Regions from separate parts of the Homo sapiens genome. Here regions 2 and 3 are each linked to region 1. The links are contacts of gene promoters, found by promoter capture Hi-C in blood cells and fetal thymus (Javierre and others, 2016). All regions are on one chromosome and are shown on one strand. The core of a region is centred on a gene start or on the middle of the fragment in contact, and the rest is flanking DNA. Distances in the headings are between cores, read along the strand shown.

What was found. The method cuts DNA at HindIII sites, captures the fragments that hold promoters and counts their contacts. A CHiCAGO score of 5 or more calls a contact.
Region 2: the fragment with the promoter of NUMA1 here is called in contact with a fragment that was not itself captured in region 1 in 10 of 17 cell types (erythroblasts, fetal thymus, total B cells and 7 more); the score reaches 9.6 in erythroblasts.
Region 3: a contact is called between the fragment with the promoter of XNDC1N here and a fragment that was not itself captured in region 1, in 1 of 17 cell types (total B cells). The highest score is 5.3, in total B cells.

Annotation. Positions count from the first base shown.
Region 1 is chr11:72,414,214-72,417,005 of GRCh38, forward strand. All of the region lies in intron 2 of CLPB (ClpB family mitochondrial disaggregase), which reads right to left. Among named protein-coding and RNA genes, the nearest start is that of CLPB, 19 kb to the right of the region's middle. RefSeq lists an enhancer at 1-62. The HindIII fragment of the contact is 277 bases long and covers 1,247-1,523 here.
Region 2 is chr11:72,079,159-72,081,900 of GRCh38, forward strand. NUMA1 (nuclear mitotic apparatus protein 1) reads right to left here and starts at 1,384. Exons shown (of 27, transcript NM_006185.4): 1 at 1,300-1,384. It overlaps LRTOMT (leucine rich transmembrane and O-methyltransferase domain containing), which reads left to right and starts at 1,692. Exons shown (of 9, transcript NM_001145310.4): 1 at 1,692-1,727. It overlaps LRRC51 (leucine rich repeat containing 51), which reads left to right and starts at 1,692. Exons shown (of 6, transcript NM_145309.6): 1 at 1,692-1,727. RefSeq lists enhancers at 795-1,750, 1,470-1,739, 1,751-2,705. The HindIII fragment of the contact is 5,366 bases long and covers 1-2,742 here.
Region 3 is chr11:71,927,329-71,930,077 of GRCh38, forward strand. It overlaps XNDC1N (XRCC1 N-terminal domain containing 1, N-terminal like), which reads right to left and starts at 1,266. Exons shown (of 6, transcript NM_001375847.2): 1 at 1,037-1,266. RNF121 (ring finger protein 121) reads left to right here and starts at 1,718. Exons shown (of 9, transcript NM_018320.5): 1 at 1,718-1,796. The coding sequence starts at 1,734. It overlaps XNDC1N-ZNF705EP-ALG1L9P (XNDC1N-ZNF705EP-ALG1L9P readthrough), which reads right to left and starts at 1,266. Exons shown (of 11, transcript NR_172895.1): 1 at 1,037-1,266. RefSeq lists an enhancer at 1,099-1,408. The HindIII fragment of the contact is 13,024 bases long and covers 1-1,531 here.

The DNA.
Region 1 (2,792 bases), core at 135-2,634:
GCCCAAAGCACCTTCATCTGGGTACCCCTGCCCAGAGCTATTAATATATGCATTTCCCAGAGAGTCAGCAGCTGTGGTGGTGAGAAGGAAAGGCCTGTGCAGGACCTGAGGTGTGGGAAAGGGTCATAGGCGCCACCTACTGGCCCCACAGCAGGCCTCCTGGCTGGCTGCCAGGAAACCTGTCACACTACAGCAGTGAGACACAAAAGTGGTTCAAATTTCTCAAACAGTGAAACAGTGTTGGTACTTGAGCCACCTTCTGTGAAGTTCAGGAATCTCACAAAATTTCCAGTAAAGAAGAGACAATGAAAAGCCAACCATAAAACCTGGCCTCCTCGGGCAAAGGTGTGGCCTTCACTCACTCAACAAAACTGAAGTAACATCTCCAAGCTAGCCTCTGTGTTGGGCATTGACAGACACCGAAGTCAATCAGACATGAATCTTGCCTACAAGGAGCTCTTATTCTGAGCTGGAGGAGGGAAAATGAAACAAGCGCACAAATAAGTGCACTAAGTATCACAGGTGCTCAGAGATGTTTACACAGGCTCAGGGAGCACAACTCACCGCCTTGCAAAGCTCTTGAATGATGGAGTTCAAAAGAGCTCACATTTCTTGAGCTGCCTACTACGCAACAGATACTTGACATTTATGATCTCATTTGATCCTCTGAAAGAAGCCCAAGTCTTACAGAGGGTAAATGACTGATTAAGATTACAAGGCCAGGCTGGGAACGGTGGTTCACGCCTGTAATCCCAGTACTTTGAGAGGCCGAGGTGGGTGGATCACAAGGTCAGAGGTTGAAGACCAGCCTGACCAACATGGTGAAACCCTATCTCTACTAAAAATACAAAAATTAGCCAGGCATGGTGGCAGGCACCTGTAATCCCAGCTACTCAGGAGGCTGAGGCAGGAGAATCACTTGAACCCGGGAGGCGTGGGTTGCAGTAAGCCAAGATCGCACCACTGCACTCCAGCCTGGCGACAGAGTGAGACTCCGTCTCAAAAAAAAAGAAAAAGAAAGATTACAAGGCCAATAAGTAGCAGCCGGGGATGAAGCCCAAGCTCTATGGAGCCACACTGCCTTCCAGGGCTCATATGCCCAATTCTTCCCTTCTTTCCCAGATTTAGCATGCGTCAGCACACCATAGTTGTCTGATGGGACCAATCAGCTGACAGAAAATAAGGAAAAGCCTCAAGTGGAAAGGAGTTTACTTGAGGGGTGAAGATACTTTCTGTTTAGTCCTGAAGCTTCCTAGAACCTTCTCTCTTGGAAGTTCTAGTTCCTTCTAGTCGCATGCTGAGAACATTCCAAGCCTATCCTTTCTTCTTTCTGGTAGTCTCCATACCACCACCACTACTTTCACATAGTACATATTCACATTTCAAATATTACAAATTCACAAGCAAATACAAAGCCTTAAAGTGTCCTTACCTTTAGGTTAAAACAAGCTCTGCAAACAAATCCAATCAAAGGGTTACAGGACAGAAGAAGTCATGGATCTCAGAAGGCTGGGCCGATTACAAGCTTAACAGAACCTAGGAGTGTAACGCAGCTGCCAAGAAAGCCAATGCAAGGTCGGGCCATATTAATAGAAGTATAAAATCTTTAACAAAGGGGATGGTTGCCCTGCTCCTCACAATAATGGTCATGCCACACTGGAATTCAGAGAGGGCACCAAAACTTTCTAGCTGTTTCATTTTAAAATGACTAGGATGAGGAGGAGACTTGAAACCACAGTTTAGGGAACCAAGGCTCATATAGCTTGGAGCTCTGTCTCCTAAGAGTTAAAAATCTGGAACAGGAAAAGGAAGCCATGTAGTCCTAGAAGACAGAGCTGGGACCAAGTGAGGGGAGTTGCAAAGGGAGCTAACACATAATGACAGCCCATCATGTGCCAAGTGCTATGCCAGGTGCTTTCACACTATTGCTTCAGAGCTCATCAGAAGATAAAACTGTTTTCTACTACTAATTACAAATTGTCTTTACTTACATTACTCCAACTGCCCAGAAAGTCTTTCTGCAAAGCTCCTTGTATACAAATACGACCTATCTCCAGACCCAAACTAAAGGCCACCTTGCCTGTGAAGCCCTAACTTTTCACCTGTACTAACTACAATTCTCTTACCAGACCGCAAGTTCCTTGAAAGACAAAGGTCATCATGATACATTTTTCTCCCCCTCAATGCCTAATAAGAAATTGCTCATAACAGGCCTTAAGAATGAATAAATGCCAAAGAATGGCTGGGTGCGGTGGCTCACACCTGTAATCTCAGCACTTTGGGAGGCTGAGGCAGGCAGATCACCTGAGGTCAGGAGTTCGAGACAAGCCTGGCCAACATAGTGAAACCCCGTCTCTACCAAAAATACAAAAATTAGCCAGGCATGGTGGCACGTGCCTGTAATCCCAGCTACTTGGGAGGCTGAGGCAGAAGAATCGCTTGAACCCGGGAGGCAGAGGTTGGATTGAGCCAAGATCGCGCCACTGCATTCCAGCCTGGATGACAGAGCAAGACTCCGTCTCAAAAAAAAAAAAAAAAAAAAGAAAAAAGAATGAATAAATGCCAAAGAAGATACAGAAATGGCCAATAAGCACATAAAAAGATGCTCACATCATTAGCCATTAGGGAAATGCAAATCAAAACCACAATGAGATACCACTCCACACACACTAGGTTTGCTGTAAGTGATGACAACACTGATGACAACAATTGTTGGTGAGGATGTGGAAAAGGTAGAACCCTCACACGTTGCTTTTGGGAATGTAAAATGGTGAAGCCACCCTGGAAAATGG
Region 2 (2,742 bases), core at 134-2,633, 340 kb before region 1:
TGTCGCAAATCCTGCCTAGCCATTAGGATACAGTGACGAAAAAGTCTCTCGTTATCTAGAAGGGCAGACAAACACGCAGACTTTTAAAATACCAGATGGCAGGCCGGGCGTGATGGCTCACGCCTGTAATCCCAAGCACTTTGGGAAGCCGAGGCGGGCGGATCACGAGGTCAAGAGTTCAAGACCGGCCTGGCCAAGATGGTGAAACCCTGTGTCTACTAAAAATACAAAAGTTAGCCGGGTGTGGTAGCGGGCGCCTGTAATCCCAGCTACTCGGGAGGCTGAGGCAGGGAACTGTTTGAACCCGGGTGGCAGAGGTTGCAGTGAGCCGAGATCGCGCCACTGCACTCCGGCCTGGGCGATAGGGCGAGACTCCGTCTCAAAAAAAAAAAAAAATGACAAGTGCTAACTCAGAGGTAAGCAAAAGAGAGTACCCAGAGGCGGCAGCATCAACCCAGTGGGCTCCCGCCCACCCACAATCTTCACACAGTCACACCACTTATAGTCATAAATTTGTACTCTCCGAGGTGCGTGTATGAAACATGTTATCTGTGAGAGTCCATGGATGAAAAACAAAAACAAACAAAAATTAAAAAAAAAAAAAAAAAAGACTTAACCTGTTTTGACCAGGACAACCACCCCAGGAAGTAGGTAAGGCAGGTAAGGTCATTGTTTACATATATGAAAAGTGAGGCTCAAAATACACTGACCAGTCCAAGACAACGCGCGCCCCCACAAAGCACCTTCCCCGTCCCCATTTATGCCCAACCCATAAACCCAAAGTAGAGCCAACCTCGCACTGGCTACGTAACCCGGGCCAAGCTAAACATTATAAACCTCAGGCTCCCCATCTTTAAAGTATAACAGGTGGTTAGAAGATTAAAAAGATAAACATTTGGCAGGTCATTGTGGACGGTGTAGCTCAGAAAATGCTGACTACTGCACTACCATAACTACTGCTATTGTTAACGATAAAAGGCAAAGACTTTCCAGGACCCGACCCCTCGCTTACAAGCCTTTCGGGAACTTGCCCTATACCCCCGACCCCAGTCACCTTCAGATTTAATTCCACAGACACGCCCCCAAACAGACCCTCCCCTTTAAGGCACCCCCCCCCCCCCCGGCTCCTCCCTCTCAGGCGCCTCTCCTCACAAACCTTACCCCCATAGATTCTGCCCTTTCGGACTCGGTTATGGAGGAGGCCTTCCGCTCGCAGCGGCCTCTCCAGCACCCCTTTTAGGCCTGAGCACCCGCAGGGGTGCCCAGGCCGCACGCCAAACGCGGGCCCGCGCCGGTTACCTGGCTGCGCGCTCCCGCTCTGCCTCGCGATTCTCCGGAATCGTACCTCTTCGTGGGCTCGCGCCAGCGCTGTGAGCGCACAATTAGTTTAAACTATGGCCCCGCCCCCTCGCGCTGCCCTCTGATTGGCCTCTGTCGGCGGGGCCCGCTTAAGGACCCGGGAAAAGGAAGTTTGAGGGCCACTGGGAAAGAGAAGGGGTATCACCGCTTCCGGACCCCGGCCTGTACTTGAAGGCAAAGAGAACTACAAATCCCAGCGTCACCCGCGGCCTTGAAGCCCCGCCCCTGACAAACTGAAGGTCCCGGTAAGCATCGCGTCAGTACTTATGGCGCCTGCCGGGTTGTGGTGACGAAAGCAGTTGCCATGGAGTTGCTCTGAGTAACCCTGAGGCAGTGGGACGCCAAGACTGGAGAGGAAGCGACTGCGGGTGAGTCGGGCGGGAAAACAGGAAACCCGTTCTAGGGGACAAGAGATCTATGGAGAAGGGAGGGGCACTCACAGAACGACTAAGAACCTTCCTGCTCGGGGATCTGAGATTTCCCCCACCGACCCTCATCACCTTTCACAGCGAACAAGATACAACACTCACATGGGACAGACTGGGCGAGGGGGAGCAGAGGGAGGGATAGGCGTTGAGATATATATCCATACAGATTTGGGGATGCTTAAGAACCACCCCCAGGGCCGGGAGCGGTGGCTCACGCCTGTAATCCCAACACTGGGAGACCAAGGCGGGCGGACCACTTAAGGCCAGGAGTTCGAGACCAGCCTGAGAAACATGGCGAACCCTGTCTCTACCAAAAACATAAAAAAATTAGCCGGGCTTGGTGGCGCGCTCCAGTGGCCCCAGCTACTAGGGAGGCTGAGGTAGAAGGATCGCTTGAGCCCGGAGATTGAAGCTGCAGTGAGCCGTGATCACGCAACTACACTCCAGCCTGGGCTATAGAGCGATACCTCCATCTCAAAACAAAACAAAACGAAACAAAACAAAAACAAAACAAAACAACGAACCCCGCCCCCAACGCAAACATAAAGCTCCCAAAATCGGATGCTTCAAGTTCCAGGCATAACCTGGGAGATCAGAAACGCCCTCAGAAATGGGGTTGGTTTTCCTCTGAGGAACTGAGACCCTCTTCCAAGACATGCGGTTAGCATTAGATTGAGTAAATCGCAGTCGCTACCCTAATTCTAGAGATGTAGGAAACTTCCTGGGGCGTGAAGTGCCTCATTCCTTCTTCTTCCAAGGAGTAAAACCCCTTCTCAATCTGTCCCCAGATTCCCTTTTCTCCCCACACCTTCTCCGTGGTCCGCTACTCAAAGCTCTACAGTTAGAGCTTCATTTTTTTTAGTACTCACGACAGATCTATTACATTTAGTAACCTACCCAGTGCTTTCACAGTCTCTCTTTTGATACTCTTAACAGCTCTGTGAGTCAAGGATAT
Region 3 (2,749 bases), core at 16-2,515, 490 kb before region 1:
TTCGAGACCATGGCCATGACCCCATCTCTGCTAAAAATATGAAATTTCCCCAGGCGTGGTGGCGCGTACGTAGTCCCAGCTATTTGGGAGGCTGAGACATGAGAATCGTTTGAACCCAGTAGGCGGAGGCTGCAGTGAGCCCAGATTGAACCAGTGCATTCCAGCCTTGGTAACACAGCGAGACACCGTTTCAAAGAAAAAAAAAAAGCACTCAGATTAAAAAACAAAATGAAACACAATACAATACTATATAGTCATGGCTACATATAATTATTAAAAATGGACTGGGAGAACACAAGCTAATTCTAATTCATAATAGTTGCTTCTGGAGAGGATGAGAGGGTAATAGGCTTGAGAGTAGAAAAAACAGGTAAGTTTAACTTTTATTGTATTATCTAGCTTTTAAAAAATAAGCAAATAAATCATAATGCCAGTAGTCAATTTAGGGTGATGGGTGTACAGTATTTACAATATTCTCCGTATTAAGTGTCACAAAATAAAAATGATTATTTTTAAGTAAATGGGATGCCTGTGGATGATGTAGATAATTCCCTGTAATTTTCTGTTGGTCCCAATGTAAAGCTGACTTTTCTAGACGTTCTGTGGGCTCACAGGCCATCCTAGTTCCATTCACCAGACAGATCCAGGCGGACGCCCAGAGGCGTGTGAGCTGGGGCTACAGGCTTGCAAGGTATCGAGTTCACCGGCTGCTGAAAAATCAGTTATGAAGGTATACGTAGGGGTGGGACAGTGAATGGTGTATAAAAAGGAGGGTAAGGCAGAAGCTGGGGCCGCAGGATGTGGGTTAGAAAAGTGTGCCGAGGTGTGTGAACTGGCATGACAGCCTAAGTAAGACGCGGAATGTGGGTGCCCTGGAGGTCCCGCAAGGCTCTTCAGCTCTCAGTTTCGGGAGCTCAAGCCGCACCGCTGCTTTCACAGCTCATCGGGAACAGGCTGCTCAGTTCATTTCCTTGATGGCCACCCTCCTCCCTCTCGGCCACTCCCCTCCCCATCAACAAATCCCAACGCCCCTCACCCGGGACCGTGGACCTCGAGGAGCCACCGTTGCCTCGGATCTCGGACCACCAAACCTATTCTCCCGCCAATTCGGCCTTCTGACCTTCGCCTTCTGACCCCGAGAGCTACTCTTCCGTCTTCCGTAGCACAGGAATGCGTTCTGGGGCTTCAAGAAGCTGCTGTTTTTGAAAATGAGTCCTACCGAGGCAAGATGGCAGGTGCTGCAGCCAGGAAAATACATTTCCGTGTGTTTTAATATTTATTTTCACTCACTACAACTCTTTCGTGGAGGGAGCGGAATTTAAACTTCCGGGTCAGCCTCAGTGCAGCTTGGGAAACGTAGTTCCTAGTCCCCACGTCTCGCTCCTTGGAGCCCAGACTGAGGGAGCGTCGCGAAAGTTGCCCGTTTTGGAACGCTCCCATTTGGCTCTCCAAAGGGAAGAATTGGTTAAATAGTTGCACTGAAAATAATGCGATTCAAATTTCTCATTTTCCAAGAACGCTCCCTTGCTGAAGCTTGCAAGGGCACGGTACTCCCCTCTCCTTGACCCTGAAACGTGCAGCAAGTAGATAACCTCCTGATCCCTGACAGTCTCCGCCTGTGTTGATGCCCCGCCCCCTCTGCTGGAGTCCGAGCCGCCGATTGGCTAGGAGCACTTGAGCAGCGGAAGCAGCTGGCTCGCGCGGGGACTGCGGTGAGGGGGCGAGCCGTGAAGATGGCGGCAGTGGTGGAGGTGGAGGTTGGAGGTGGTGCTGCTGGGGAACGGGAGCTGGATGAGGTAAGCGGAGTTGAGAGACGAGGAGAGACTCAACCTGAGACTGAGGGGAGGGGCAGTGAGGTATCGGGAGGTGGGGGTCTTAGGAGAGAAGGGAAAGATCCTGAGAGGGAAGGAGCTGACTAGGGGGCGGGTGCGTGGAGAGCGAAGTCAGAGGCACTCCTGACTTGGGGACTCCGAGGCGGCCTTGGGAGTAGAAGACTTGCATTAGCCTCAAGGGTGAAGATGGAGGACAGAGAGAGAGGTCGGAGGGGTGGGGGTGTTAAGATTTTGTGATTACTAGCTGGGTGTCTTAGGGTAGGACCGAAGGGCTAAGAGGTAGTTTGAGTTGGAGGGACGTGAATTTCTTCAGGGGAAGGCTGGGCTTCTACTGTGGGAGAGGACTCTGTCTAAGCCTAGGGTGGGGGTTGGGGACACAGACCGGGAAAGAGTGCTAATCCACTAGTAGTATAGCTTTGAGTTATCTTAAAGTTGGAACTGTTTTATTTATCGTTCCATTCTAAGACTTTGTATCTAATGCATGCTCAGTAAAGTTTTGGCCAACGAATGAAGGAACAAGTGGATGAATAAATGATTGTATGCCGGAATTCATGCATTTATTCACTTAATAAACATTATGACTTTTGCTCCGGGTTCTGGGCCAGGTGCTAGGGAGACAAGGGGCCCCTCCGTTGAAGAGCCCACAGTCTAGTGGTGGGAGACAGACAAGAAGACTAGTCATTGCATTAGAGATATAATGGTGGCACTGAGAAGTGTGCAACATTTCAGCTTGGGATAGGGAAGGCTTCCCGGAGTTGCTGAGTTTTAAACGATAAATAAGTGTCTCTCTCTTCTTCTGGATTTATGAGTTCCTTGAAGGTGAGCTCCTTGAGATTGTATGTTCCCTTTACCTATCTAATAGGCATTTAAAGACTGGTGTATTAAAATACCAGTGGTCCTTGAAGGAATCACTAGGA